Linked DNA regions of Homo sapiens: all the other regions are linked to region 1. Evidence: promoter capture Hi-C in human tissues and cell types (Jung and others, 2019). All regions are on one chromosome and are shown on one strand. Each heading gives the region's core, a stretch centred on a gene start or on the middle of the fragment in contact. The rest is flanking DNA. Distances are from core to core; before and after follow the strand shown. Region 1 holds the start of ABCC12 (ATP binding cassette subfamily C member 12). Region 2 overlaps PHKB (phosphorylase kinase regulatory subunit beta). Region 3 overlaps PHKB (phosphorylase kinase regulatory subunit beta). Region 4 overlaps PHKB (phosphorylase kinase regulatory subunit beta). Region 5 overlaps PHKB (phosphorylase kinase regulatory subunit beta). Region 6 overlaps PHKB (phosphorylase kinase regulatory subunit beta).

The links. The method cuts DNA at HindIII sites, captures the fragments that hold promoters and counts their contacts. A contact is called where the count stands out against the background at its distance.
Region 2: a contact is called between a fragment that was not itself captured here and the fragment with the promoter of ABCC12 in region 1, in 4 of the 25 tissues and cell types used here (IMR-90 fibroblasts, dorsolateral prefrontal cortex, lymphoblastoid cells and 1 more).
Region 3: a contact is called between a fragment that was not itself captured here and the fragment with the promoter of ABCC12 in region 1, in 2 of the 25 tissues and cell types used here (dorsolateral prefrontal cortex and spleen).
Region 4: a fragment that was not itself captured here is called in contact with the fragment with the promoter of ABCC12 in region 1 in 4 of the 25 tissues and cell types used here (H1 embryonic stem cells, IMR-90 fibroblasts, dorsolateral prefrontal cortex and 1 more).
Region 5: a fragment that was not itself captured here is called in contact with the fragment with the promoter of ABCC12 in region 1 in 3 of the 25 tissues and cell types used here (H1 embryonic stem cells, adrenal gland and dorsolateral prefrontal cortex).
Region 6: a fragment that was not itself captured here is called in contact with the fragment with the promoter of ABCC12 in region 1 in 5 of the 25 tissues and cell types used here (IMR-90 fibroblasts, dorsolateral prefrontal cortex, lymphoblastoid cells and 2 more).

The regions. Positions count from the first base shown.
Region 1 is chr16:48,153,647-48,158,482 of GRCh38, reverse strand. It overlaps ABCC12 (ATP binding cassette subfamily C member 12), which reads left to right and starts at 2,490. Exons shown (of 31, transcript NM_001393797.1): 1 at 2,490-2,642; 2 at 4,599-4,836. RefSeq lists an enhancer at 1-506. The HindIII fragment of the contact is 12,201 bases long and covers 1-2,861 here.
Region 2 is chr16:47,480,904-47,485,739 of GRCh38, reverse strand. All of the region lies in intron 1 of PHKB (phosphorylase kinase regulatory subunit beta), which reads right to left. Among named protein-coding and RNA genes, the nearest start is that of PHKB, 22 kb to the right of the region's middle. The HindIII fragment of the contact is 9,826 bases long and covers 1-4,836 here.
Region 3 is chr16:47,505,549-47,510,384 of GRCh38, reverse strand. The region is part of intron 4 of PHKB (phosphorylase kinase regulatory subunit beta); the gene reads right to left. Among named protein-coding and RNA genes, the nearest start is that of PHKB, 47 kb to the right of the region's middle. The HindIII fragment of the contact is 3,671 bases long and covers 1,107-4,777 here.
Region 4 is chr16:47,533,894-47,538,729 of GRCh38, reverse strand. All of the region lies in intron 6 of PHKB (phosphorylase kinase regulatory subunit beta), which reads right to left. Among named protein-coding and RNA genes, the nearest start is that of PHKB, 75 kb to the right of the region's middle. The HindIII fragment of the contact is 5,027 bases long and covers 1-4,836 here.
Region 5 is chr16:47,580,615-47,585,450 of GRCh38, reverse strand. All of the region lies in intron 8 of PHKB (phosphorylase kinase regulatory subunit beta), which reads right to left. Among named protein-coding and RNA genes, the nearest start is that of PHKB, 120 kb to the right of the region's middle. The HindIII fragment of the contact is 5,115 bases long and covers 1-4,836 here.
Region 6 is chr16:47,619,380-47,624,215 of GRCh38, reverse strand. The region is part of intron 14 of PHKB (phosphorylase kinase regulatory subunit beta); the gene reads right to left. Among named protein-coding and RNA genes, the nearest start is that of PHKB, 160 kb to the right of the region's middle. The HindIII fragment of the contact is 7,108 bases long and covers 1-4,836 here.

The DNA.
Region 1 (4,836 bases), core at 1,241-3,740:
AAGCCACCGATAGAACCTAAAACTATGACTCAAACTTTCCTCCACCCTTCTGCACAGGAGCTGGCCGTAAAGAAATTCTCTGACCAACTTTGTCTGAGAGTAGGTCCTAAGACCCTCATTCCAGAGGGGTCGTGCCCCATACCTAGAAAGAAGAAATGCTGTGCAGAGAGGCCAAGAAGAATCTGAACAGACAGGCCCTGCTGGGTCCCCATCCCATCACCTCGGTCCATTACAGTTAATCAGAACTTTCTGTCCAATCGCATTTCTATACCACTGTCCATTCCTCATTGAGTCTAAGCATAAAAATGGACAGTTCTTCCTGAGCCTTTCGGTATTCATTTCTGAAGACTCACATGTCACATTAAACTTTGATGAAATAAAATTGTTATGCTTTCCTTTTGTTAGTCTGCCTTTTGTTACAAGAGTGTCAGCCATGACCCACATGACTGGTGAGGAAAAGTATCACACTTTTTCTCCCCTACACATGTATATCACTGTACACAATTTTTTTTTTTGAGACAGAGTCACTCTCATCATCCAGGCCTGAATGCAGTGGCACGATCACAGCTCACTGCAGTCCTGACTTCCCTGGCTCAATTCATACTCCCACCTCAGCCTCGCAAGTAGCTAGGACTACAGACACATGCCACCACGCCCAGCTAATTTTTGTATTTTCAGTAGAGATGGGGTTTCACCATGTTGCCTAGGCTTGTCTTGAATGCCTGGGCTCAAGTGATCCACCTGCCTTGGCCCCCCAGTACTGGGATTATAGGCCTGAGCCTCTGCACACAGCCAAAATAGAATTTTTAAAGGAAGAGGAGAAATATGAAAAGGATTTCTATTTTTTTTCTTTTTGTATTCCAGTGGATTATCTCGCCCCCCCGCGAGCTGTGTGTACACCCAGGATGGGCCTCAGTTCCCTGACTATGGGTGAGTCCACGCTCTGCCTGGAACAGGAGCTTGGCTGGTCTTTTCCTAAGGACTTCCTTGGATACAGACCGGACAGTCCCTCTCCATCATTCTCCACTCTGTTTCCGGCTAGGCCCACCAATCTTCTTGCGTAGCGCCCAATACTGTTTGTCTGGGTGGAAATCCATCTCCGCCCAGCCTTTCATGGAGATAGAGGAAAACTGATCGGCATTCTTCCTCCATAAACTTGACAGCACTTGACTCCGTTTGGAAGATTGTGGAAGCGAGTCTTTGCTGTGTTTATGAGACCCCCGGGGTTGTTGCGAAGATCAAGTGATAAAGAGGATGAAGAATTTTGCGATACACAAAGGGCTCCAGAAATGTCGAGTGATATTATTAGCAGTGATTTGCATTCATGAAGGGAAGAATGGACGGAAATTAAATGGAACACTTTGGACACGTGTAAGGAAACTGCTGTCGGTCTAGCTCACTCCCCAGGCCGGGGAGCCTTCCTGGGAGGACCCATTTTCCTACACAGCTGCCCACAGCCCCTCTCCATTTCCACCTCCCTCTAGGTAGGAAGGGAACTCAGGTTGGGCAAAGGCGGTGAATTCGCATCTCCAGGAAGCGGCGGGGCCGGAAGGCAGCCAGCAGGGGGCGGCATTGCGCAGGACAGGAGAAGGTAGCGGCCAAGTTCCTCATGAAATCCACGTGCGTGAGGCTGGGAAGGTCCTCTAAGATGTTTAAATAACCCTTAAAGCGGAATCAAGATTTGTTTTTTTCTGCAGTTAGAGAGTTTGCTCCCTCCCAGCCGGCTCGCTGAGCGCTGTGGAACCCTTCGGCTGGGCTCCCCTGAAATCGGGCGCTTGTTCTGGGACAGGCGCAGAAGGGACCCCGGGAATCACGCTTGCGCTCGGGATGTGCAGGGTTCCAAGGGTGACACAGGGGAACTTTTCTATGCAAGGGCTAGCTGCTAGTGCAGGTCTCAGACTTACCTTCCGTTCATTTCAAGACAAATTGAGCTCAAATTACCCTTTTCTTTTTCGTTAAATGAATGGGGAATGAATGAATGAGATTTTCTGTTTTGAAGATGAGGCTCATCTCCCCTCCCCTCGCCTCCCCTGCCCTCCCCTACCCCTGCCCTCCCCTACCCCTGCCCTCCCCTCCCCTCCCTTCCCTTCCCCTGATCCCAAAGTTGATTCCCGGTTGCAGGAACACAGCGTAGAAAATTCGATGCATTCTCTCAGGAAGGAGCCTGGAGTGGGACTCAGGGGACCTGGGTGCTGGTCTCAGCCCCACGCCAGTCGTGGACAGGCTTCTGTTCCTTGGGCTTCTCGTCTGTAGAATGACGGTTGGAGAGAGGATTTTTCTCCTTCTCTTCTACAAGGATGTGCTGTGACAGCCAGGGAAGGGCTGGCCATGCACAGTGCTTTCATGCATGGGCTCTGACTGTCACCAAAGAGCCAGACCCGGCCACAGGCCATCCTGGAAGAGGGGAGAGCCCTTTAATGTGGGCAGAGGGAATGTTGGCCCGCCAGAGTTCCCTCTCAGGTGTGGTGGGAGTGGCAGTTGAATGGGGCAGTTGGAGAGGAGGACTTCAGGCGGGTGGGACAAGAGAAACTGAATCTGAGGTCCTTGGGGAGAAGCAGGCCCTGGAGTCCTGGGCAGCAGATGCCAGGCTCTGAGCCCCATGACTGCTGACCCTCCTCCCCTCCCTCTCATCCTCAGCCCAGGTAAAGCTTCATTTCCAGCCCAGGTAAAGCTTCTCCCTGTAACAATTAGTGGCCACCATTTAGTCCCAAGGGCCTTTGTTTCTCATCCTCAGGACAGGCTGTGTGTGTGTGTGGTGGGGGGTTTGGGGGAGGTGACACCACTGAATGGGGCTGCCCAAGTGGGAGGCAGCAGGGACGAGGCTCCCAGAAGAAAGGCAGCCCCTCTTCCACTTTTGGAGCCCCCGCTATCATAAAAGAAAAGGCAGAAATGCCAAGACGCGATTTCAAAATCTCTGAAATACAAAAGCCTACATTGAATATTTTAAGTCTTTTCCCACACATGCACAAACACAAACACATATACAGGGTAGTGTTCACAATTTAATTATGGGATTTATACCTCCCCCCCAAAAAAAAAGACCTGGAAAGCTTTACTGCAGTTCTCATATGAGGTTTTCATCTTTCTTTCTTTTTTTTTTTTTTTTAACTTTTAAATATATTATTTTCCTGGGAGGGTAGATTTGAATTGCTCTGAATCCAGGCTCTGCATCCTTCTTTGATCGTGTCGGAATGTGTCTGTAACTGGATGGATGACCTCTTTTGGAGATGCCATCACTGGCCACTGTTTTAGGCCTTCTGGGAGATGAGGGTACTTGAGCAAAAGCACCCCCACTTCCCTTCCCACACCCCCAGCTTGGTGCTGTCCCCTGCATGCACTTCCCTCTGCCACCTCTCTGCCTCTCCCTGCCTCCCAACCCCAGTCCCTCATCACTCACAGGGCTTTCTGATCTGGCTGCCACAGGTGCCTGGGACCTGGGGACAGACAGGAGAGGTGCGGTGCAGGCAGGGCCTGGGAGAGCTCCCCAGTGTCTCCTCTGTGCTGGAGGCCAGTCAGGCCCTGGAGGAAGGGGCTGTGGGAGTTGGGGGAGACCATCAGATATTGATAACTTTGGTGGCTTTAAATTAACAATGGATTTATTAAGAAAGAAGTAGGGCTGTAGTCTCATACCTGGGAAAAATTTTATGACTAAAGGTGTGCCTGCTTTTGGTTGATGGAGGAACTCCCATCATGAGCACCAAGGAAGACCCAGAGTCCAGTTCTCAAACATAAAGTTGTTAATTTTCTGGGCTAGACAGGGGCAGAAATGAAATATAACAGAGCAAAGTGGGCAGGTGTGGAAAATGGTTCTTCTTGAGATGACTTCTAGACATCTTTTGTTCTCTCTTGGGGCAGAGACAAGGATAGAGAAAAAGGCCTCAGGAAACACTATAAGGAAGACAGCAGTGCCAATGCAATAATAAATGTTACATGACCCCAAATCTCAGAGTCACAGAGACAGTAAGGAGTGGTGGGGATTGTGGCAAACTAAAGCATGTATACCCTGCCCAGGAGGGGCTGCCGTGCTCAACGTAAGTGGATTGTCACCACATGAACATACAGAGCTCTTGATATTTGACGAAAGCCAGAAGCCAGTCTTATTTTTTTTTTAATGTGGTATCTCCTCATTTTTAAATGTTTTCCACAAATTGGAAAAAAATGTTTAAACTATGCAGGCCATATAAAATGGAACTGCAAGTTGTACATGGTCTTTGTGTCCTGTGCTCTAAACAGAGGCCTTCCTGCTTCTGCCTGTCCAGTCTGTTGAGGTTAGGTTAGGAACCCCCTGCCTGCTAGCAGAGGGGTGCACCAGTGACTTTTTGGCATCTCCTGCCAACCCTCAGATGCTCTGCATGGAAAACACAATGCCAAGAACAGAGCCATGATGGCTGCAGGGACCCTGGCCCGGTTGGCACTGCCTCCTCCCAGCTCTCATCAGCTGTGTACCCCTCAGACCCCATCCTGTGATTGCCAGCAAACAGATTTCTCACCCCAGGCAGCTCCTCACTCCTGGCAGAGGATGGCGTGACAGACGGGGATAGAGACGTTAGCCAAAGCAGGCTTCCTGATTTTAAAAAAAGTCTCATTTTTCCCCCCAGGGCTGCCAAATTTAGCAAAGTGCCATTCCAGCTGCAATGCTTCCAAGCCGCCTCAGATCATCAAAACTTCACATGCCCTGGGGAGCACTCAAGGAAATTACCTTCTAGCACCAATTTCCTATGCGCGCTGATTACTCAAACCTGGCCAGGGAGGCCTGGCCTCCAGTGTTTGGCATCTGGGACTCAGGAGCCCTTAAGACAAGCTGATGACATCTTGCTGCCAGGGTCCCTTACCATT
Region 2 (4,836 bases), core at 927-3,426, 670 kb after region 1:
GCTGAGGTGGGAGGATCGCTTGAGCCCAGGAGGCAGAGGTTGCAGTGAGCAAAGATCACGCACCTGGACTCCAGCCTGGCGACAGAGTGAGACCTTATCTCTAGATAAATAAATACGAACGAACCAAAGAAAGCAGTGAAGTTGCTCTGCTATGTATGAAGTCCTGACCAAGAAGCAGTGTTCAGGAAACTTTTGATGACCAGTTTACAAATTTATTCTCACAGACTACCCTATCTCCTGCTACTGTCCCATCCACATTCTCTGATTTAATAATGTAGTTCCACCTCCTGAGCAAGATTTCCATGATTAGACAAGTTGGAAAATTTGTCTTCCTCACTTTAGAATGGATGCATCTTAACCTCTATAGTTAAAAAGATTTGAATATACTATACATAGATTCAGCACTGTGAGCATCTTCAAGATGACTGATATCTCTTTGAGAACAAAAGAAACAAAACTTAAACCATGATTTATTTTCTGCACAGTTCCACCATACACCGAAATTTAAAATATTATGGAATAAATGTGCTCTCAATGGAGGAATAAATAAATAAATTATGACACCTTCATTCAATGAAGTATGTTAAGACAGTTTAAGGAATAAGGTAGTTCTATATGATTATGAAAGACTAAATACAGTGTGGAAAAGTAATGTTACAGAAGAAAAGATGTTTAGCATGATCCTAGGTGTTGAAAAGCTAAGCAACAATAACTATATATGTATAACATTTGAAATGTACATGCATATATAGATAACTAAGTACTTTAAAATGCCTAGAAGGATACACACCACATTGTTAAAAATGATTACCACTAGGGAAAGGAGTGTGATTTTTATTCTTTATAGTTCTGATTGTAAAAATGCTATATGAAAATATTATATGCATTTACTACTTGTGCAATTTTTTAAATGGAAAAAGGAAATTTGAATGCCTAACTACTTATGCATTGCACAAGATAGTTTATATACATTATTCCATCCCATCATCCTGACAAAGCTGTGAGACTGGTATCTCTAGATAAATAAATGACAATGGCTTTGTCATACCACATGGAGGCACAGAGAAGTTATTAAATGGCAGTCTGAATTTGAAAACAGGGCTCTGTGAAGACAAACTGTACATGTGCACTTTTCCTTATACTATGAAACCTCACCAAAAAAAATGCTTCACTGAGAAGCATTGAGCCTTTAATCCTTGCTTTCACTTTCTGCTTTAAACAGGAGATTGCTCCAAAATTATTTGTATATGCATACATACATATATACATACTTTTATTTAACAACTCCTATTTATTATTATACTTCATTTGAACCCTCAAGATTTAGAGTCTACGTTTCTCCATGATGGATAGCAAGGTGGGTAAGAAACATATTTCACATGTAAAATAAGAAATGGCAAATATGAAATAATATAACTTCATAAAAAGGAAGCAAAATTTGCCTATTCAACTTATCCAAATAATATGTGAAAAGCCCATTCCACCATTCCCATTTTATTTTTAATAAAAAGGTATTAAGTTCTTCCAGTGACCTTTAGAGAAAGAACATGGCCTATAAAATCTATTTCAGGATATTAAACCTGGTTGATGTTTCATGTGTTGACCTTATGAATAGCAATCACTCAACTAGCTATTTCATTTTCCTTTCTTATTTATACTACCTTCCCATAATATACTATGATTTTGTATGATTTCTGTGAGGTCAGAGCTGTATTCTGACAATTCTAATCTTTCTATAAAGTTTTGGAACTCCTTTTTAGGAAACAAATGCATTTAGAAGTGGTTATTTAATGTTATAAATGGCAATTGTTTTATTCACCAAAGTAACCCCAGTGCCAACAGTGCCTGGCACATAGTGAGTGCTTAATAAGTATTTACTAACAAAATGAAATTACTATACTCTGATGTCTAAACCTTACCAAAAGTTACTGTGACTCAGCCACAATGAATAAGGTGACGAATCAGTGCAGATGAAGTGAAGACTCACTCATCAATAACCTTAACTATAACTATAAGGTAATTCATTGTTCTCTTCTATTGAGTGTGTTCTATTCTATTCTCTTATGTTCTGTTATTCTATTGCTTATAAACGGAGATGGGAATGATATAAAAAGATGATTAAAAAACGATTTGACCAATGGCAGCACCACTAGAATAAACGTATGTAGCCTTACAAGTGGATCACTTTATAGAGAATAATACTAATCTGAACACATAATAAGATTTCTCAAGAGAAACTCAGGGTCATTATTTCATACTTATACTACAAGTAAAAATTTAAAATTCCAAACTTCTAAGGCTTAAATGACAGAGTCTTAGTTCACCATATTAACTGAATTATATGGAGGGGAAAAGAACTTCACTATATACTACTTTAAATCTTTACAGAAAGAGCCAGGTGTGGTGGCTCACACCCATAATACCAGTACTTTGGGAGGCCGAGGCAGGTGGATCACCTGAGGTCAGGAGTTTGAGACCAGCATGGCCAACATAGTGAAACCGCGTCTCTACTAAAAATACAAAAAATACAAAGCTTAGCTGGGTGTGGTGGTGGGCGCCTGTAATCCCAGCTACTCGGGAGGCTGAGGCATGAGAATCGCTTGAACCCAGGAGGTGGAGGTTGCAGTGAGCTGAGATCACGCCACTGCACTCCAGCCAGGGTGACAGAATGAGACTCTGTCTCCAAAAAAAAAAAAAAAAAAAAAGAAATTATTTAATAGGCCAGGCATGGTGGTTCACACCTATAATCTCAGTACTTTGGGAGGCCAAGGTGGGTGGGTCATTTAAACCCAGGAACTCCAGACCAGCCTGGACAACATGGCAAAACCCCATCTCTCCTAAAAATACAAAATTTAGTCAGGCATGGTGGTGTGTGCCTGCAATCCCAGTTACATGGGAGGCTGAGGTGGGAGAATCGCTTGAGCCCAGGAGGCAGAGGTTGCAGTGAGCGGAGATCACTGCCACTGCACTCTAGCCTGGGTGATAAAGTCAGAACCTATCTCAAAAAAAAAATTAATTGTATTATGTCTTGTTATTATACTGATAAAGATGTTATATTAGGCATTTTATTGTGTCATACATTATTCTACGCAAGTCGTACAGAAGTAATACTTTCAAGTCATTCAGCATTTTGAAAAATAGACCCAAACCATTTCCACTTCTCATTTACACTTTGATGAAGCCTGTTCTATATTCTTGTCTTGGCAAAATTCAGCAGTACATTTAATGTGAATGTTACTACTACAATTAGAAATTGTATAGAAATTATAATCTGTATAATTAAAATGAATATGGGAAGTCTTGAATGTTAGCAGGAAAAAACACAATAAACTATAAATTAGCAAAGTAAGCTGACTGTAAATAAAAACCAGAATAAAACTAGATATACTTCTGAAGGACAGTACAGAGTTTGTAGGTAATGAATGCTAGTTAATTTTCTTCCAATAGAAACACACTGAAGTTTTGTTTATTGGCTAAGTGAAACAAGGAAGAGATGGCATTAGCCTTTCCCACACTATACTTACGTACAACCCCTAGACTTCAGTGATTTGCTCCAATGCTGTCCTGAGAATCCGTCTAAGGAAGTGCCTTGCAAAGACCTACCTATAGTATAATCGTTAACTGACCAAACTTTCTCATACGGAATCCAAGCCACATTTTTCACAAGCCAGCTTTCATTCTTTAGTGAATAAGGTTAAACCCAATGTTAAATCAAGTAAAAGAGAGAAACTGCCTTCCCCTACCCCAGCCCTCAGAGTATCAACAAACTGCTGGAGGGGAGAACGTCTTCATAGCTAAAAGGTCACAGAAGGTCTTCATAGCTAAAAGGTCATGGAAGGTCTTCATAGCTAAAAGGTCATGGAAACAACAAGCGTTTTGAAAACAGGAAGAACTGGGCTGCAATCACAGCTGTATCACTTTGTAACTTTCAAGACCTGGGCTCTCTCTGAGCTAGGTCTTCTCATCTGAAAAGTGGAGAAAATTATATAACCTCACAGGGATGTTGTGAGGCTTAAGTGAAATATTTTAAATAAAGCAACACACAGTGCATATTAAATACGAATTGTCTTCTCTTCTTTGCCTTAAATTTTGTCATCTACTTCAGCACTTAGGACAGGACTGGGGCACAATGTGGGAAACCAATGGTTTCTGGATTAATTGGCTTTGTCAGGTTAATGTCAGAATCCTCTTGATCAATCCAAGAATGGATGACCCACATAATGATTTTTAAATCAGCAAATTAAATAATCAGTAATTTTTAAAAACAGAAAAAGACAACTAAGTGAAATAATGTGAAGTTAAAGCAGCCTTGGGCTGCAATGGGTAGTTTAGTGATTATGAGCAGGAGCTGCAGAAAACCAAGATTACCACTTTTTCTAACCATGCCAGAGGGAAGAGCATTAATTATGTCAGATGAGGGATAAAAGCGCCAATAAAATATGACCCTGTGCTACACAGGAGTGATGCTAATAAGTCTTCAAGAAAAATTTCATAACCAAAATGAATGATCATTTCTGAAGCATGACTATTCAGAGCTAACCTTAATTTCACGAAAAGTCACTAACAACCGTCATGCCTAACTAAAGCTAGTTGTCAAACATCCCAGAAAACCATGCTGTCTCTGTGGGAGACAAAGCAAACTCACGACCCTTGGGAGAGGAACCAAATATCTCATAGAGAAGTATAAAATGAGTACGAAGTTGTCACATCCACATTATAATGAAGACATCAAAATGTAAATTAATCTACTTTCTAATAAATACATTTAAAATTACAGAACTGGAAAGCTATAATAGGCATTCTTTAAGTTCTAATTCATCATTCAATATGCTATTC
Region 3 (4,836 bases), core at 1,693-4,192, 650 kb after region 1:
GGACTGATTGACAGAGGAACCAACCAAGGGATCAGAGGGTTGGAACTTTCAGCTCCTCACCTCCACTCCTTACTTCAGGGGACGTGCAGAAAGGAAAAGCTGGTGATTGAGTCAATCACCAATAGCCAGTGATTTAATCAATCATGCCTACATAACACGGTTGCTATAAAACCCTAGATGATGATGTCTGGAGGGCTTCTGGGTCTGTGAACACATCTGCATGCCAAGAGGGTAATGCACCCCAGATACCACGGGGACAGATGATCCTGTGCTCAGGACCTTCTGCACCTTCTACCACTTCATCTGGTGTTTGCTTATATCCTTTAAAACAAACTGGTAATAGTAAGTAAAGTGTCTCCCAAGTTCTGTGAGCTGTTATAACAAAGTATTGACACCAAGGAATTATTATAGCCAAGTCAGAGAGAATTGTGGGTAGCCTGGGGATCTACTACTTACAATTGGTGTCGGAAGCCGGGGGTAGTCTTGTGGGACTGAGTCTGAACCTATAGGATCTGTTTTAACTCCAGGTCATTACTGGAAGAATTGCAACAAACTGTATATACCCAGTTGGTGTCTCAAATTCAAGAACTGCTTGGTATGGAAAATCCACACATTTGGTGTCAGAAGTGTTGTTAGTAGAGAAACAGTATAGCTGTAGAGTCCCAATATCTTGTAAGCTTCTAGAAGCTATGCTGTCCAACATGGTAGGCACTAGCTACATGTGACTGACTAAATTAAATTACAATTAATTATATTAAATTAAATAAAAAATTAAGCTCTTCAGTCACAATGGCCACATTTCATGAAATCAATAGCCACATGTCACTAGTGGGTACTGTATTGCTCAAGAGTAATATGGAACATTTGTATGCTCATAAAAAGTTCTATTGGGCAATATTGTTCTAGAGGGAGGTTACATCTTTACCATCTCCAAGTGCCCTACACAAACAAATACAGCCCTCCTTATGATTAAAGAACCTAATCAGCAAAATAAAAGTCTGAACCTATCAGTATGTAATCAGGACCTAGAGAATGGGTACAGTTAGGGATGTAAGTTCTCTACTGATAAAGTGACAAAGCCATCTGGTGTTAATTCAGAGAAGATGACTATCCCTTCTCAATATCTGAAACTGCTGGCAGTAATCTGAACCTACACAAATAGAAATCAATGTGGTCACTCTTTTTGCACTATTATCTTGAAGTCCTGAATATTATTCTGAGCTCCTATATAAAAAATAGGTAAAATTGAAGCAAAACACATTTTAACCACTTGATACAGATCTAAAAGGATAAGGTTTTATCAGTTTAATAAAGTGACTCCTGCAGTTGACAAGGTGGTGTTTGTCATTTGTCTTCAAGACATGCAAGAACCCAGCAGGACAATTTATATTCAATCACTATGTCAGGGGAAAAGCAACTACTAAATGATTAAAGTTGCTCAAATGGGGGATTACATAAGTACATTTTGAGTTTTAAAGCCATTAAAAGACAAGTAATTTAAAATTTCAGAAAAAAATAAGGTCCAAAGTATAAGCTTTGAAGATTAATGGGGCATGCTGTATGTCAATTACAAACAAAAAGTTCTCTTGAAAGCAGTCAAAAACAAGAGGATGCTAATTAGTATTTTGTATGATTCTGGCATCTGGCAAATAAAAATAAAGATAATAATTAAAGCAAAAGTTTCTAGACTAAAATAAATCTAGAATAATGCCTCTTCCACTCGTATTTTGCTTAGATTTTTCCTGAAAACTTTTATTATTGTGAATAAACAGTTTATCATTTGGGAAGAGGTAATTGAGTATTTTGTCATCCATTTTTAACTTATAGCCTTAAAACATTCATTTAGAGAAAAAAATCTTCTCATAAGGGAATCCTGGAAAAATAAATTTTATAAAAGTTAATGATTTCTCATTAATTAGAAACTAGCATTTAAAAAAAATTTTCAGTAGATAGATACAGCAACATTTATAGCCTATTATAAAGCAAATGTCTGCCCTCCAAACTAATTGCAGATTGAATCAACTCTGAAAAACTCTGAATGCCTCTCTGTAGGCAGAATTATAAAAGACAGTAAATAAGAGAATAGGTATCTGCACACTGAGAGGTAAAACATAGCTGACATTAATAAGCAGGCATTAAGATAAGTGTCAAGACAATAAAACCCAGAAAACAGACTGCTCTAAATTCTTTAAATAAATCAAGAATAAGTCTTTGTATTCACTCAAATTCATAATCAATTTAAAATATCTCTTTTAGCTAGTATTTTTAGAAAATACATCAGGAAGCATGTTTTATGATGAGAAATCAATAGAAGTGGAGAAGGGAGACTTTCTAGGTCATGATTTTACTTCAAAAGACAACATGAGGCTAGAGGTCAAACAGTGAATGAACACTACTAATGTGCTTTGCTTCAGTTTCAAGGGAAGACCAACACAGAAATATTTCACATTTCAAGATATGTTTATATTTCCTCTTGCAACAGTATTGTAAAGGAAATGGCCAAGACAGGAGGAAAAGAACGGCAAGCAGCAACAAGATGTGAAGGTATGGTGAGAGGCTTTGAGCTGGGTGCATGCTTCAATCTCCCTGAGTCAGTCCCTCACACTCATATGCACTAGAATAATATACTCCTTACATTTCATATTTACATTAATGGTCTATATCATAGCTACATAGGAAAGAAATAATAATCCCTTGTAATTTAAAGAATGTAAGATAGCTTAACTGGGCCAGACATGGTGGCTCATGCCTGTAATCCTAGCACTTTGGGAGGCTGAGGTGGAAGGATTGCTTGAGCCCAGGAGTTTGAGACCAGCTTGGGCAATATAGTGAGACCCTGTCTCTATTTTTAAAATTAAAAAACAAAAACAACCTTAGGTCACACTCAAACTGTATCAAAAGAAAACATATTACAATTGTGATGACTGGTTAATAAGGTTGAGTAAGAAATGCCATTATAAAGTCAAAACACCTTTGTAAAGTCAAATCTCAGTAGAAAAGGCCACTAACAATTGGCTAATGGCCAGGTGCTAATGGTCTACATCATAGCTACATAGGAAAAAAAAAATGATAATCCTTTATAATTTAAGGAATTTAAAGTAGCTTAAGTTGGCCAGGCATGGTGGCTCACGCCTGTAACCCTTGCACTTTGGGAGGCTTAGGTGGAAGGATTGCTTGAGCCCAGGAGTTCAAGACCAGCTTGGGGAAACATGGAGAAACCCTGTCTCTACAAAAAATACAAAAATTAGCTGGGTGTGTTGGTGCATGCCTGTAGCCCCAGCTACTTGGGAGGCTGAGGTGGGAGGGTTGATTGAGCCTGGGAGGTCAAGGCTGCAGTGAGCTGTGATTACACCACTGCATTCAAGCCTGGGTGACCCAGAGAGACCTTGTCTCAAAAAACCAGCCAAACAACAATAAAAAAACCAACTGGCTAACCGTGCCACAAGGAAAAAACCTTAATCCAAGCTTGTCAACCAGCAGAGCATGACAGCTTTGAATGCAGTCAAGCACAGATTCGTAAACTTTCTTAAAACATTATGAGATTTGTTTTGCAATTTTGTTCTTTTTTTAGCTCATCAGCTATGGTTGGTGTTAGTGTATTTTATGTGTGGCCCAAAACAATTCTTCTCCTTCCCATATGGCCCAGGGAAGCCAAAAGATTGGAAACCCCTGCCTTAAACTAATACATTATTAGACTTCCTTCTGATAATTCTACTTTGTCAGCTTGTTTGGCAAACCCATGAAAGTCATGATTTTGATTTTCACAATGTGTCCTAGAGAGAAAAGTTGAATTCATAAAGACATTATGCATTCATGAAATGATACAAATGAAACAAACAATAACATCTCACACTTAGGAAAAAATTAACTTTAATCACAATTATTTCAACATAACATATGACATACTAGTTTAATTCCAGTATGTCAATCTGTGACATACTACTTTATTTCAAGCATCTGAAAAACCTTTGCAATATTGATTTGTACAAATCTCAATAGACAAATTAAAGGTTTTTCATATGTCTCTATTATCAGCTTATGAATAAATATACTTTTTCTCTATAACATTTTCTTGTTGCCATATTCTAGTAGCAGAATATTAATGATTTTTTTTTATTTTGACTTGAATTACAGGCCTGAAGAAGAAGACTTGTTATCACTCTTTTTATTATTTTTTTTCTTTCTTTTCTTTTTTTTTTGAGGCGGAGTCTCACTCTGTTGCCCAGGCTGGTCTCGAACTCCTGACCTCATTACCTGCCTGCCTCAGCCTCCCAAAGTGCTGGGATTACAGGCGTGAGCCATCATGCCCAGCTTATTATTTTCTCTTTTTTCTTTTTTCTTTTTTTTTTTTTTTTTTGAGACAGTTTCCCCTCTGTTGCCCATGCTGGGAAGCAATGAGATCTCAGCTCACTGCAACCTCTCCCTCCCAGGTTCAAGTGATTTTGTGCCTCAGCTTCCTGAGCAGGTGGGACTATGGGTGCGCACCACCAAATCTGGCTAATTTTTGTATTTTTGGTAGAGACGGAGTTTCACCATGTTGGCCAGGCTGCTCTCGAACTCCTGGCCTCAAGCGATCCACCCGTCTCTGCCTCTCAAAGTGCTGTGATTTTAGGCGTGAGCCACCATGCCTGGCCTATTATTTTCAAGTGCAAATTAAAACAATATGTTTGTATGATAAAAAATAAACAAAATATTAAGTGATCAAAACTGCCTGCAAAGTTACTTGTGTGCATCTCTGCTAAAATACAGAAGTTGGAAACGCATCTGAAACACGGGGTCTAGAAGGGAAAGGGAATACTACTAATGATAACGACACAAATATTTACTGTATGTTCA
Region 4 (4,836 bases), core at 1,095-3,594, 620 kb after region 1:
CTAGGGCCTCCAGGAAATCTCTATGCTCAGAGTCAACAAACACAGAGATAAAGAGTTGATCAGGGATAAGTCTACCCAGGTTATCTCATGAAGGACGAATGGCTGGGGCACCTGAATCCATGATGTTTACATTCTCCTCCCCAACAGAGACATTTGCCCTCAGGGGCAAGCATACCTCCCTCATTTCAGTGAAGGAAAGAGCAACCAGGGTGTTAAGGCCTCACAGAAATAGAAGAGAGTGTGAGTTATTTCTAGATTTCTCCAAAACATGCACCTATTCCAGAATCTCTTCACCCAAGGGTAGAACAGTACATCCCACAGTAAACTTTTTTAAATTTTGAATATTGATCAGGGTCCCCTCAGCTTACCCAACTCGGGCTACCTTGCCTATATACCTTAAGGGAAACCTTCCTGTGTAAACAACCTGCTCACTTTCATGATGTTAGCTATTTCATGGTCTTCAAAGTTATTTAGATTTTATAACACAACAGAAAATACTTGATAGTTTTTCAGGTCTCTAAGTTTAAAGCTTTGTGGCTAGGTGCAGTGTCTCATGCCTACAATCCTAGCACTTCGGGAGGCTGAGGCAGCCAGTTAACTTGAGCCCAGAAGTTCAAGACCAGCCTAGGCAACATAGCAAGACACTGTCTGTACAAAAAAAATTAAAAAATTAGCTGGGCATGGTAACATATGCTTGTGGTCCCAGCTGCTCGGGAGGCTGAGGTGGGAAGATTGCTTGAGCCTGGGAGGCTGAGGACAGTGAGCTGTGATCACGCCACTGCACTCCAGCCTGGATGACAGAGAGAGACCTTGCCTCAACTTAAAAAGAGAGAGAGAGAGAGAGAGAGAGAGAGAGAATTTTCCACGTATGTTTACAATACCTGCTTACAATTCAGTGATTTTTCCATTCTAATCCTGAATACATATAACCTGTACCTTTGCTTTGAAATATTTCCACTTGAATTTCCCATTAAACAGTATGTTCTAAACCCTTCCACCAAGAAGCACTTTTCAATTCTGCTTTTTTCCCCATCAGACCACTCTTTTCCAGGCTCTCAGTCTAGAAATCTTGAGATCAACTTTGACTACTGTTCAATAAAATTTATATGAGGACATTGATTTGGACTGAGCTCCTGCAGTAGGCCCAAGAAACCAGACCAAACCAGAATGGAGTCACTTATGCTAGGTGACACACAGTCAAACTGAACATTGAAAAGGGCCAGTTTTCTGAAGAAAAACGAACAAACAAAAGCAGGAGATTCACAGCAGCCAATCAGAAGGGGCCCAGTTTCCCTGAGCTGGCATGATAAAGAAGTCCTTTCTACTTTAATCCTATAAGGAAAGTAACTTTGAAACAACCAATCAGCTTTTTGTTCCCTGTTTCTGCTTTCTTCAGCCCTTTTCTGCCTATGAAGCCAACCTCTTAAGCATAATTCATTGGAGAGCCTTTGCTAGATCTTTGGAAGAAACGCCACTGATTCATGAGTCACTAATAAGTCAATTAGATCTTTTGAATTGTTGCAATTTTGTCTTTTGACACTACTATGTTTCCTTTTAACCCCATATTCATTCCACAGGAAGGCTGCTATTTTTCACATTGCTTCTTTAATCAAAAAAGTTTCGTGAATTCTGACAGAGTATTACAATTCTCATATTTGACATTCAAATCCTCTATATAATCTTCCCACCCTGTCCCCACAGAACTCTATTTATTCCACAATCCTCCGACAGGAACCTGGGTTCTAATTGGGCTGGATGGCCATTAGTCTTGCTCATTTCCAAATGAAAACACTTTTCTATGAATCTTCCTTCAGCCCCCGTTCAAAACTTTTCTTAGTGAAGTCTCTAATTTCTCCTAACTCTCACTATACTTAGAGCCAAGACCACGGCTCTTAATTTTTGTTCCAAGTGTGTTTTTTTTCTCACCTCTAACTAGTACACAGGTCTACCATCTCTTATTTGCAATTCTAAAATGCCACAAGTTCTGAAATCCAATTGTTTTTTCTTAACTCATTTGTCAGCAAAACCCAGAACTGAGATGAGATTAGCTGCCTTATGTTCCTCACTTTGTGTGAATATGTATACATCTTACTGCAAAAATATTAATGTGCAGATTCTGCCCTAAGCCATGCTGGGGTTACTATATAATAAAAGGTATCAAAACAGTATTACTTTTATTTAAATCCAGCAAGTTTTGAAATCGAAAACATATTTGGTTCTAAATGTTTTTTCACATAAGAAACTGTGGTCCTGTATAACTTCTCTGAGCTCAGAAATGTAAACTTCTTGTAGTTCTCACACAAATAATACTATGATTTAGTAAGAACTGGCCTCTTGAGGAAGTATAACATTGCTAGCTAGAATATAAAAATAAAGATCGGCCGGGTGCGGTGGCTCACGCCTGTAATCCCAGCACTTTGGGAGGCTGAGGTGGGCGGATCACCTGAGGTCAGAAGTTCGAGACCAGCCTGACCAACATGGAGAAACTCTGTCTCTACTAAAAATACAAAATTAGCTGGGTGTGATGGCACATGACTGTAATCCCAGCTACTTGGGAGGCTGAGACAGGAGAATCGCTTGAACACGGGAGCCGGAGGTTGCTATGAGCCGAGATCGCGCCACTGCACTCCAGCCTGGGCAACAAGAGTGAAACTCCATCTCCAAATAAATAAATAAATATCATAACCATTTCCATGGTCAGGGTATTCTGTGTATTATTTTCAATCCTGACTCTAGTTTATGTACTCAATGTTGTTAGCCCATTGTTGCATCTTCATACCAATTTCTAATTTCTGTTACCTTGCTTTGAAAGCATGTACCTTTGATATCCACTTCTGCAAAAAGTATGTAGAGAAATATTTCTAATTGGAAAGAGCTAGAACAGTCAGATCCAAATGTCATCTGTGGTGTTTTCAGTATGTTTTAAGAGTATCATTAAGACAATAATGCAAATATCTGAAATACTTTCAAAACAGAGTTAAATGAAATACAACAATAACGTTTGAGATTGAATTAGAGTAAGTATTGCACTAAAAATCAAAATCTTAATGGACTTTATAAAATTTAAGGTGTGTGTGCTAAGAAACAAGTTAGAGATAGAGCGGGACTTATATTGTATAAAATACAGTTTTAGTTCACTGCAACTCCAAAAGCAAACAATTATTTAACTCTCTCTCCATATGTTACTAAAAACAATCAGTATAATAAATCAGTATAACCAAACTGTATAGTAACTCCTCAATTCTGAGGGATAGGCTCCTAAAAACATCTATGGTAATATAATTTGTTAACAAGAAATTTATTATGGAGAAATTAGATAAGGAGATACTGAGTTTATAAATGACCACTGAATGTTCACTAAAGTAAAACAATTCAGACCAAGCACAAATGCTAAGTTTAAAGGAAGTTTTTGTTATACATGTTAAATTAGTAATACTGGGTACTATACAAATGATTTCCATTTACTGTTCCTTTACCACTAGAAACATTTCAGGATTTCTCTTCCCCAAGTTTCAAAAAGATATTTGTCAGTTAATTTGTCTTAATGAAGGTAAGTGCTGATTAAAAGGTCTTCTCCCCTGTGTCTTGTACAGCTAAATGCTTAAGGTTTTTATGATTTCACACACTCTTTAGTGTAACCGAGCCCTACCTGCAGTGAGTAACTGCTCAGGAACAACAAAGCTTTGCGTAACCTTGATTTACTTCAAAAACTCTCTCCCTGATACCCAAAGTGAAGTAATTTTAGTCCTCCTTGTATTTCACTGTCATTTCTCCTTAGCTTATTTCTTCCTCACTCATTCCTCATTTCTTATGACCTCAATAAATTTTATGTTATTCTGCCACATGTCCCTCAATTTTGATTTGTCTAATACTTTCCCATGAATGGACAAAAGTAATGCATTTTTGGCAAGAATATCATAGAAATAATGTTGTGACTTTCTTAAAGCACCATAGCACAGGATTCATGATGTCAATGTATCTTCTTGCTGGTGGTAACAACCATGATCACTTAGTTATAGTAGCTCCTACTTTGTAATGTTATCACCTTTCCCTTGGTAGTTAATAAATATCTTGAGGGAAATGCTTTGGAACTATGTATAAATCCTGTTTCTCCTCATAATTTTATGTACTAATTTCAGCATTTATCAGTGGATCTTGTTTACACTAATTATCACCAGTTCTTGCCTAAAGGTTATTTTCTATTTCCCTCTTTATTTCTACATTTATGAATTAAAATCCTACCATAACAGTTTTTTAATGCAACAGTGCTGCAATGAAATTTTAGTATGTCTCTAGGAAAGAGCTTCCCAATCATTTTGACATCATGGTACATATAGAAATATTATTTCTATACATACATTGAAGTAACTGGACAAGACTCCTGGCAGCCAGAGGTTATCGGCCAGTGAGGTATGGCTAAGTCCAGGCCCCACCAACACCTTTAGGATGAAGACTCATTACCATGGCAAATCTGTAACCTGTCTGTGGTACCCTAGTAAGAAAGCTCTAAGCTAGTGATGGCAGCGGTGGGCCATCTGGAGTGGCTGCTGTTATCACGCCAGCTGCAGCAGGTAGGTACACCCGGGCTGCATGCTCTGTGGGGTTGGCGGGAGCCAGGAACAGGAGGGAGTCCCACCCCTTCCGAGCTTGGGTGGGAGCTCCCCAGATGCCACTGCAGCCGCCCAAGCCACAGCTGAAGACCAGGGTATCTCTGTACTCTTGGGGCCTGGGAGGAGGGGGGAGCCCCACCATCCTGGGTGCAGCTGCAGCCGCCCAAGTTGTGGCTGTGGGCCCAGGCCTCCTGCTCCACAGAGCAGGCAGGAGCCCCGCCCTCCC
Region 5 (4,836 bases), core at 1,054-3,553, 570 kb after region 1:
ATTAATTTAAGGCCTGCAAATTTCAAAGGAAGCTAGATGTCTGCACTGCTTTGAACACTTTGCATAACATGAGCAATCTCTCTAGTCATTACCTTTTAGATTCTGGTCTCGGCTCATTTGTCAGTATCTTGATTTCCCCAATTAAGGATAGGAATATGAAAGGATGTTTTATATGTATATGTCACTTCAGAGTATCAGATTAACTTTGGATATTTTATTTTCATCTTCCATTTCCTGAAAACATTATAATTCTGCCATAATATCCTGACTCCACCTAAAGAGCTTATTTTAAGACTGACAGCTCAAACTTTACTCCCTAGCCAAGTTTCTATAATTGTTTTAGTCTAGTAAATGCACTGGGACTGGAAGATGATTCTGAAACCTGACCACTGTCATGGGGACTTGAGTTCCAGTGGTGGGGAAGGGCTGCACTGCACTTCCCTTAATCCCATGACCAGAACAACCACTTTTGAGACAGTCCCTAAGGCCAAGGGTACCAACTGTAAACATAAGACTTTGCTGATCTCACTGGTCTCAATTAAAAAGAAAACAATTTGAAGACTGATCTTTCTTTTCTTCATTAATCACTTCTCAGAGCCTGAGCTAAGGGACTTGCTGCCCTCATCTAGACTCAAAAAATAAAACAAGGTACAACTGGTCATTGGATCTACCTATCGTACATGATCTTCACATTCTTATTCTGGAACAAAACCACACCGCAAAACTATGGTCAGGAGATTTTCTCCCCTAGTTCAGTTATGAGGCTGTCACTGAGCTCTGTAGCAGAGCCTGGAGAAATGTATTCTTCCGGAAAGGGTATTTACTGATAGGAATTTCCCTTCTGCACCAAGGCTGTGGTGGCAATAGATGTGTAAATAGCCAACTTTTGCTTACTGACCCAACAGCTCTTTCCAGCAGCCCCTCTCACAACCCAAGCTTCTTCGTCCTCATGCACATACTGTGAAAGGAATTCTCAAACTACAGAGAAAGATAAATTTGAACATGAATTTTCAGGGTCTCAAAAGAGCAGAGCTGAGACTCAAACCCAGGAATCACAAAACTGTTGCTTACTATGACTATGACATTTGATGAAAATAAATTCTGATAGACTAAAATATTACTGTTTAAATATTATCAAACATTATTTAAATAATATTTAAATATATTTGTCATGAAATTTATACAGAATATATTTGAGATCATGATGAAATATGTGATTCCCATATTGAGGATTATATATGTTTCTAAATGTAGCTCTGCCCCAAATTGGCTTTTATTGTAAACAAATCATTATGGAAACTAGGCCTTTTTATCACATCTTATTCTCAGTGTCCCAAAGAAAAATAAATTTGGAAAATAGTTTCAGAAAAAGATTTAAAGTGTTTTTTTTTTCCTTGAATAATAAGTTATTATTGGAAAAAAAGGAGGAAGTATAGGAACGCATAATAATCATAACCAAAGCAAAAAACTTTACCACCCAACAACTGCCCGTAAAAATAAAATTAACATTTGTTTTATCTCATATGCTGAAGCCAGGGGCAAAAGGCAAGCCTTTCACACTATTTGTGAAATGGATACCTCTTTCAGAAGCTCAATAATTATTAAGCAAAAAACAGCTTAAGAGTTTTCAAAGAAAATGCACAGCTCCCAATTCTAAAAGTAGAAAGTGTCCAACAGCTGAAATTTCCCATACCAACAAATTGATCTTCTATTAATAGATTCATTATGGAGTGGCATTGGTTTTACTCCTGGTTTTGCCCCTGTGTGGTGTGATCTGAGAAACACTACCTCAATCTTCCGATCATTCATTTTGAGAGAGGGGCTCTACCATCTCTCTTGAGTTGCCACCAAGAAGGAATGTACTTTTTGAAAGTTCTAATTAATTTAGTTAAAGACACACGATCAGGTCTTCCAAAACCTTATACCAATGGCCTTTAGAAATAACAGTGAATATCAATATGATCTGAAATCCCTCAAGTCTTGAGGTGGTTTCTATGGATTTTCATTTGAATAAAAGCATTTCTTTATGTCAATTCTTTTCCCAGCAACTGACTTTTAATTAGATCACAGCTCTTTTAAGTATATACAATGACATTATAAAATGATTAAACACTAAAAAGATCACATGCACTTTTAAATGTGCCACTGTTTAGCAGGCACATTATTAATTTAACTGCTGTAGAGGTGGTAATAGTAACATTTTCAAAGTCATATTTCTGCAATTCTCCACATCAGAAAAAAGAGACGAAAGGGAATTTGTAAAACAAGGACACTGACACTACCTTGTAAAAATGGAAGATGAAGGGACTTTACTGGCAACATGTGATATTCTTGTGGCTAAAGAAATAAGACATGGCCCGGCGTGGTGGCTCATGGCTGTAATCCCAGCACTTTGGGAGGCCAAGGCGGGTGGATCACCTGAGGTAAGGAGTTCAAGACCAGCCTGGCCAACGTGGTGAAACCCCACCTCTATTAAAAATCCAAAAATTAGTCGGGTGTGGTGGCACATGCCTGTACTCCCAGCTACTCGGGAGGCTGAGGCAGGAGAATCGCTTGAACCCAGGAGGTGGAGATTGCAGTGAGCCGAGATCGTGCCACTGCACTCCAGCCTGGGTGACAAGAGCAAGAAGCTGTCTCAAAAAAGAAAGAAAGAAAGAAAGAAGACATTATCTGTCCATATTTCTATCTGAAACAATCAAGTAGTAGTCAATTCAGCAAATATTTGGTGCATAGCTCCACTGGAAATAGACGTGACCTGAACAAGGCCAAAAATTAACTCGGCTTAGAGCAGTTGTTCTCGCCCTTGATTGTATATTAGAATTCCTGAGAAGTTCCAAAAAATCTCAATGCCAAGGCCTCCCCCTACACCAATTAAATCAGAATCCCTGGAAGTAGAGCTCATATATGAGTATTTTTTTTAATTCCTCAAATGATTCCAATGCATAGTCAAGATTGAGAAACTGGCTGAGGAACAATATCAGCAATACAGTTATAACTCAGAATCCAAATGCAGAGTAAAGTAATTTAGCGATTTTAGAATTATAGCTGAGCAATTTATGAAAGCTTCCTGGGAAAAGTAGAGCACTGAAAGATGGGTAGAGTTAGGAAATGTAGCTTGTATGTATGTGTGTGAGTATACACACAATAGGAAGGGGTGCATACAGGTATGTAAGCAACATACACTAAGACTCAGGTACTTCAAAGGAGATGACACTATTGCAAAAAAGAGCTGGCTACTACCATGTAACAGCCAACCAAGAGACACTCAGCTCCATTCAGCTCAGTATTTGGTATGTCACAGAAGCCAGGTTAGCAAGACCTGTACCTTTCCAGACTGCTGTTAACATCAGCTCTGGTTTAATCCATGCCTCCTCTCAGTCTCCTTGATATATGCTCTAGAAAGCTTTCAGTTCTTTCTCATTTCCCTTCCTTTGTATTACTATTACTTCATAAATAATAGCAACAAGAGTCGGCCGCGCATAGTGGCTCATGCCTGTGATCCCAGCACTTTGGGAGGCCGAGATGGGTGGATCACCTGAGGTCAGGAGTTCGAGACCAGCCTGGCCAACATGGTGAAACCCCGTCTCAACTAAAAATACAAAAATTAGCCGGGCGTGGTGGCAGCCGCCTGTAATCCCAGCTACTCGGGGGTCCGAGGCAGAAGAACTGCTTGAACCCGGGAGGCGGAGGTCGCAGTGAGCCGAGATCGCGCCATCGCACTCCAGCCTGGGAGACAAGAGCGAGACTTTGTCTCAAAAAACAAAAATAAAAAAAACAATAGCAACAAGAGATGGCATTTATTAAAAGTTTAATCTCTGCAAAGCACTATGCTAACTAACTTTTATTTGCATGAAAACCTCCTGAGTTAGGTCCTATTATCATTATCTTTATTTTTTTAGACGAGGAAGCTGAGGCTTAGTTAAATAGCCATACTCACTGGTGGAATTGAGTACAGAGCATGCAGTGATCCTGTCTCCTGACCCCTAATATAATGCCATTCTTTAAAGTCATTTTATCCTCCTACTCCTGTCTGTCTATCTATTCATCCATCCATCCATCCATCCAGGAATATGAAAATGGGTGATCCAGAGTGTGTGGTAATTCCTCATGACCTTCATATAGACAGAGCCCATCCATCCTCTAGAGGGAGTTGGGATGAGAAGAGTGCTTGTGTACGTAAGAAGGAGAAGAGAGGTGGCTGCATTAATATACTACAATTAAAAACATTCTTAAATTCAAGACTTGAGTAGATAGTATTATAATTGCCATAACAAAAACCATGTCGTTTTTTTTGCACAACTGTGTAACCTCCTAAAATGTTTCTTTACTGACTTAGCATTTCAGTAGCTTAGGATTAATTTTATTCTCAGTTAGAAACTTCACTTTACTTCACCATCTTAGGAATCTTTATAAAAACTGCTAAAGAAAATTGGCCTACTTCTTGATCCAGAGTAGTAACCTCTATTCCTACATTTTATTCCTTTCCACTGACAACTCAATCCATGGTCACTTGATTAGATTCTTTCAGTATAAAAACTGGTTAAAGATCTAATGAAAATTTAAGACGACCTTCAGGGTTTTTTTTTCATCCCCAGAGAAAATGAGATTTTAGACATTTGATTATAGCCAGTTGAAGGTGAAGCTAGGATCAAAACTCCCAATTATCTGGCTAAACACATCACACAAATTCTCTTCTACATGAGATATACATTGAAATACATTACATTGAAACCAACATGAAAACTGACATAAAAATATATATATACAATGCCAAATACATTAAAAAATGTGAAACCTTCTACAAAATGAGTAATAGATTTGAGGGAAAAGTCACTG
Region 6 (4,836 bases), core at 1,405-3,904, 530 kb after region 1:
ATAAACCACAGGATCCCATAAAAGATGTTTTTAAATAAGGTTGGGGAAACAATAAAGATGCTCACAGAAATAAATGAGGAGAACATTAAAATATAAATATTTGCTCAAAACTCATGGAGATTCGTAAAGTTTATGAAAATTATTCATGAAAATATACAAAAATTATAGGAATTATATGAATATGTAGCCTTCATTGAGCTTCTACAAAACATTTTCAAAAGGCAGGTTTCTTAGGCATTATATTCTGATATTTCTAATTCAATACCATTCTTAAGAAGTATAGGACACAACAGAATAATGTAATCTGAGAAGAAGAAATAAGCAATTAAGGTTTATCTATAACAAATCAAAACTGTCAGGCTGGGCGAGGTGGCTCACGCCTGTAATCCCAGTACTTTGGAAGGCTGAGGCGGGTGGATCACTTGAGATCAGGAGTTCGAGACCAACCTGGTCAACCTGGTGAAACTCCATCTCTATTAAAAATACAAAAACAAATTAACCAGGCATGATGGCAGGTCCCTGTAATCCCAGCTACTCAGGAAGCTGAGGCAGGAGAATCACATGAACCCGGGAGGCAGAGATTCCAGTGAGCCATTGCACTCCAGCCTGGGCAACAAGAGCAAGACTCCGTCTCAAGAAAAAAAAAAAAAAAAAAAAATCAAAACTGTCAATATATGGAGCTAATTAAAAAATTAGCTCCATTAAAAAATGGAACCAAAAAAAAAAAAACCAAGTTCAAAAGCCATTAAAACAATGGCTTCTGTCTATACAGTGATAGTCTTAATCACACAAAGGGATAAAAGAAATCTAACAGGTTAAATGCTAAACATTCAATTTCTTTCTAAGTTGAATACAGACTAAAAAATATATCCGAAATGTTGAAAATATAATGTTTTCCTCTAGACTTTTTAGGATTTTTTCTCATCTCTTTAATGAGAAAGAAATATTACTTATATAATAAATTATTGAAATAAAAAACAGCAATAATATTTATTTAGCTTGCATAATGTGTCAGACATTTGGTTAAGAGGTTTACATAAACTATCATTTAATCATAAACACAACCCTGAGTTAGGGATCATTATTCCCATTTAAAATATGACAAAAGTGGGGCTTAGAGAGATTAATTCAATTGTCCAAGGTCACACATTTAATAAGTGGAAGAGACAGGTTTTATAGCTAGGCCTGTATGAGATGCAAAGCCACTATACTATATTACTTCCTTAAAAACAAAAATTTATTACACATATATGCAGTGTTCATTGATCTTTAAGAAAGTAATTCATGCAAAATTCTATGCATTTGTATATTTAGAGGAGAAAGCATGAAACTCCCACTTCCTCATTAATTTGAAAAATGAGAGACCAAGTGTACTATATGTTTTTAGCTGAGATCTATATAAATATGTACATGATTTAGCAAACAAGTACTGACTTTCATCCTCAATTTGGAAACTTGCAGCACAGAAAATAAGCTCTTATGACTAAAAAGCATTCCTTTCATATTGGCCTTTTCTCCAAAGACTGTCAAAGTAGATCAATCCATTTTAATTGGCATATTAAATGGGCTAGTCTACTTCACAGATTCAAAGCTTGGGTGTCACTGAATGCGAAACTGAATTCTCTCAAGGGTGTGTCAATACACATGATCTGCTCTATCATAATAATTCTGCCATTAAAGTAAAATATTGCCTCAAGTAGCTGACCAAAAATACTTGTATTTTATTCACCTGCATGACAGCAAAAATACATGGAACTCTCCAAGGACCTCATGAGAGAAAAATCATTCCTCAAGAAAGTAGACACTCCCAAAGCCCAATCCTTTGTTTTAGAAGGGGGCAACTTGTCAGGATATAGATTATTAAACAAGGTGGAGCTAGAAGGCGTTAATTGATAGGTTTTCTTCAAAGATCACTAGACCTTTAAAAATGTGAATAGATTCAAAACAGGAAAAAACGTGAAGTAGGTAAATTTCAGGTTAAGTTCACAAATTTATTCATATTTATGAATAACTGAGATTTCTTTCCTTAGAGAAAAATGTCAGAAATATAGATTCATTAAAACAATACTAGATCATAATAATCCTTGTATATCTTTATTCTGGACCATAAATCTTGCTTTCTTACTTCTATTTTTCCTTCTTTTACATTTTAGCCATGAGTATAAGAAGTTTCCATCCTGTAGATGAAATATTTCATTATACATCATGCCTATTATTGAAACTTTTAATTTTAATAGGTTAAATGGGTTAATTAGAATGATGTTATTAAATGTGTTTAAGCTCATTTTTTTGACTTCCAATTCAACTTTTCTCAGTTCTGGATTTTTTTTATCAAGGCATTGAATTTTAATTGGCTCAGGTATAAATACCAATTGATAAGAGACTCTTCATTACCCTTCAAGACAGCAGACAGAATTACCTGAGGAGAAACTCTGTGCGGCTGTGGCATATTCAGGCTAGGCTCTCTCAGAAGCATCTTTGATGCCTTGACTATTTTATTCTGTTTTACTAAGATAATCATAAGAACTTCTATTCAGTACTCAAATTCACTCCCATGCTTGGGTTTTTGGTCCCACACAAACGCTTTATTTCTTTGCCAAGCTAGTGAAGTTGTTGTTGTTATTTTTTAATCTTTTAAGTAGAAATTATGTCTCAAACTGGTTAAACTATTTGAGAGCATTAGAACACACTGAGCCAGATAAAACTGAGCCACATGCATGATTTCCTTAAATCACCTTAAATATCCTTAAATCTTTTTAAAGACTAATAAATCTTTAAAAACTGAATAGATTTAGAACAAAACTTTAAAAAGGGAAATCGCTACAAGTCCATATTGTAGGAGTGCTATATAATGTATCTACCAAATTAGGAGGGGTTTATAACCTTTCTTGGATTGCAGTAAACTCAACTTCCTGAGCAGATGGTCTTCCACCATATAATTCCTTTTTAACTCCCTACAGTCTGGCGACTGGGCACACTACTCCACTAAAGTCACTTAAAGGTTACCAATAACCTAGATTATGGAAGCCAGCAACAGAAGCGCTGGAAGGGGATTTACGAATTAAACCCAGCCAAATAATTTTACAGATTAGAGAACTACACTCCAGAGATGCTAGGAGTCCTTCCCCAGATTATACTGCAGTGAATCACACAAGGTCTAAAGAACTAGTACCTGAATTTCTGCCAGTGCTTTGCTGCTCCTCCCAGCCAATGAGGTAGTCAGCCTTCCTGAACCAAGAAATCAAAATTCTTTACACTTTATACCATTTTAAACTTCTTGCTAGATTATACTGTCCTGCCCTTCCTAGAACATCTCTTTTTTTTTATATTTTTTATTTTTTTGAGACAGAGTCTCACTCTGTTGCCCAGGCTGAACTGCAGTGGCACAATCTTGGCTCACTGCAACCTCTGCCTCCTAGGTTCAAGCAATTCTCCTGCTTCAGCCTCCCGAGTAGCTGGGACTACAAGTACACGCCACCACACCTGGCTAATTTTTGTATTTTTAGTAGAGACGGGGTTTCACCATGTTGGCCAGGCTGGTCTTGAACTCCTGACCTCGTGATCCACTTGCCTCGGCCTCCCCAAGTGCTGGGATTACAGGCGTGAGCCACCATGCCCGGCCAGAACATCTCTTTACTCCAGCATCTGCATTACCTATACTGTGGGAAAGAATGAAGCCTGGAGCCTGGCCTTCCAAGAATTGTCTGCTCCCATAGGTTAATTTCCACCATGAACCATGTTCAATAGAATACAATCTTGCATCTTTTATTTATATTAACTACTGGGCACCTCAATTAATTGTCATGTCTGCATTGGAACTATCAAAATACAAGTAACAACAACTGCTAAGCCCAAGGTTGGATTCAGAAGCATGCAGTGTGCCTCCTGTGTTCTTAACCATTTTGCTAGGCAGAACATCCAACAATATGAAACCTTTCCTATTTGTACTCTTGAATATTGAAATAGCATTTTCATATCAGAATATTTTTTTCTATAATTCTTCCTTTGACACTAGAATGGCTTATTTATGTAAAAATTCTGCTGCATCCAACAACATCTATTTTGAGAAAAAACATCAATTTTTCTTAAATTGGTTTAAAAACAAAATGAAGGGAGAAAAAAGCAATTCCTGGCTGGCTATTGCCTGTTAAATATAATAGTTTCAGACAATATTCCAAAAACATTTAAAAAGGTATTAGGTGTATTTTCCTATTTAACCAGGAATCTTCTGTATTCTAATTAGTATAATACACATGTAAAAATAAGTCCATTTGCTATAGAACTCCAGAAACCCAACCCCTAGTTACTATAAATAGATGTTCTCTAAGGGTCACCTTATACCTAGTGGACAACTGTAACGCAAAATACAATAAATCAATAAAATGCATATGGCCAGCTGCTTGCAGTTTCTGCTGCAACCAGAGCTCTCCCAAGTTTGAATGAGCTGCAAAGGCTGGAAACAAACACTCTTCAAGAAACCATTATCTCACATTAGCATGGCAGAGGCGCTGCAGTATGAACAACGAAGGTATCATTCGTAGATAATCAGTGGGCACTAGAATTACCTAGGCAACAGAAGATGATGGGCCCTTTAACAGGAACAAGTTAGGGTGAATGGGGAGAGGGAGTAAACACCTCCTGAAAGCGTTTTCCTTTGGATAAGGAAGAAGAAAATCCCTACTAAAATTACTGTTATAGATTTGTGGACTTGGTTTCATCCTAGCATAACAGGGAAGAAGAAAGAAGGAAATAATTAACATGATGATATAATGAATCCCAGCATACATTTTGTACTGATGGGGCATCTTTGTGTTTAATTTTTCAGATCACTTTCAC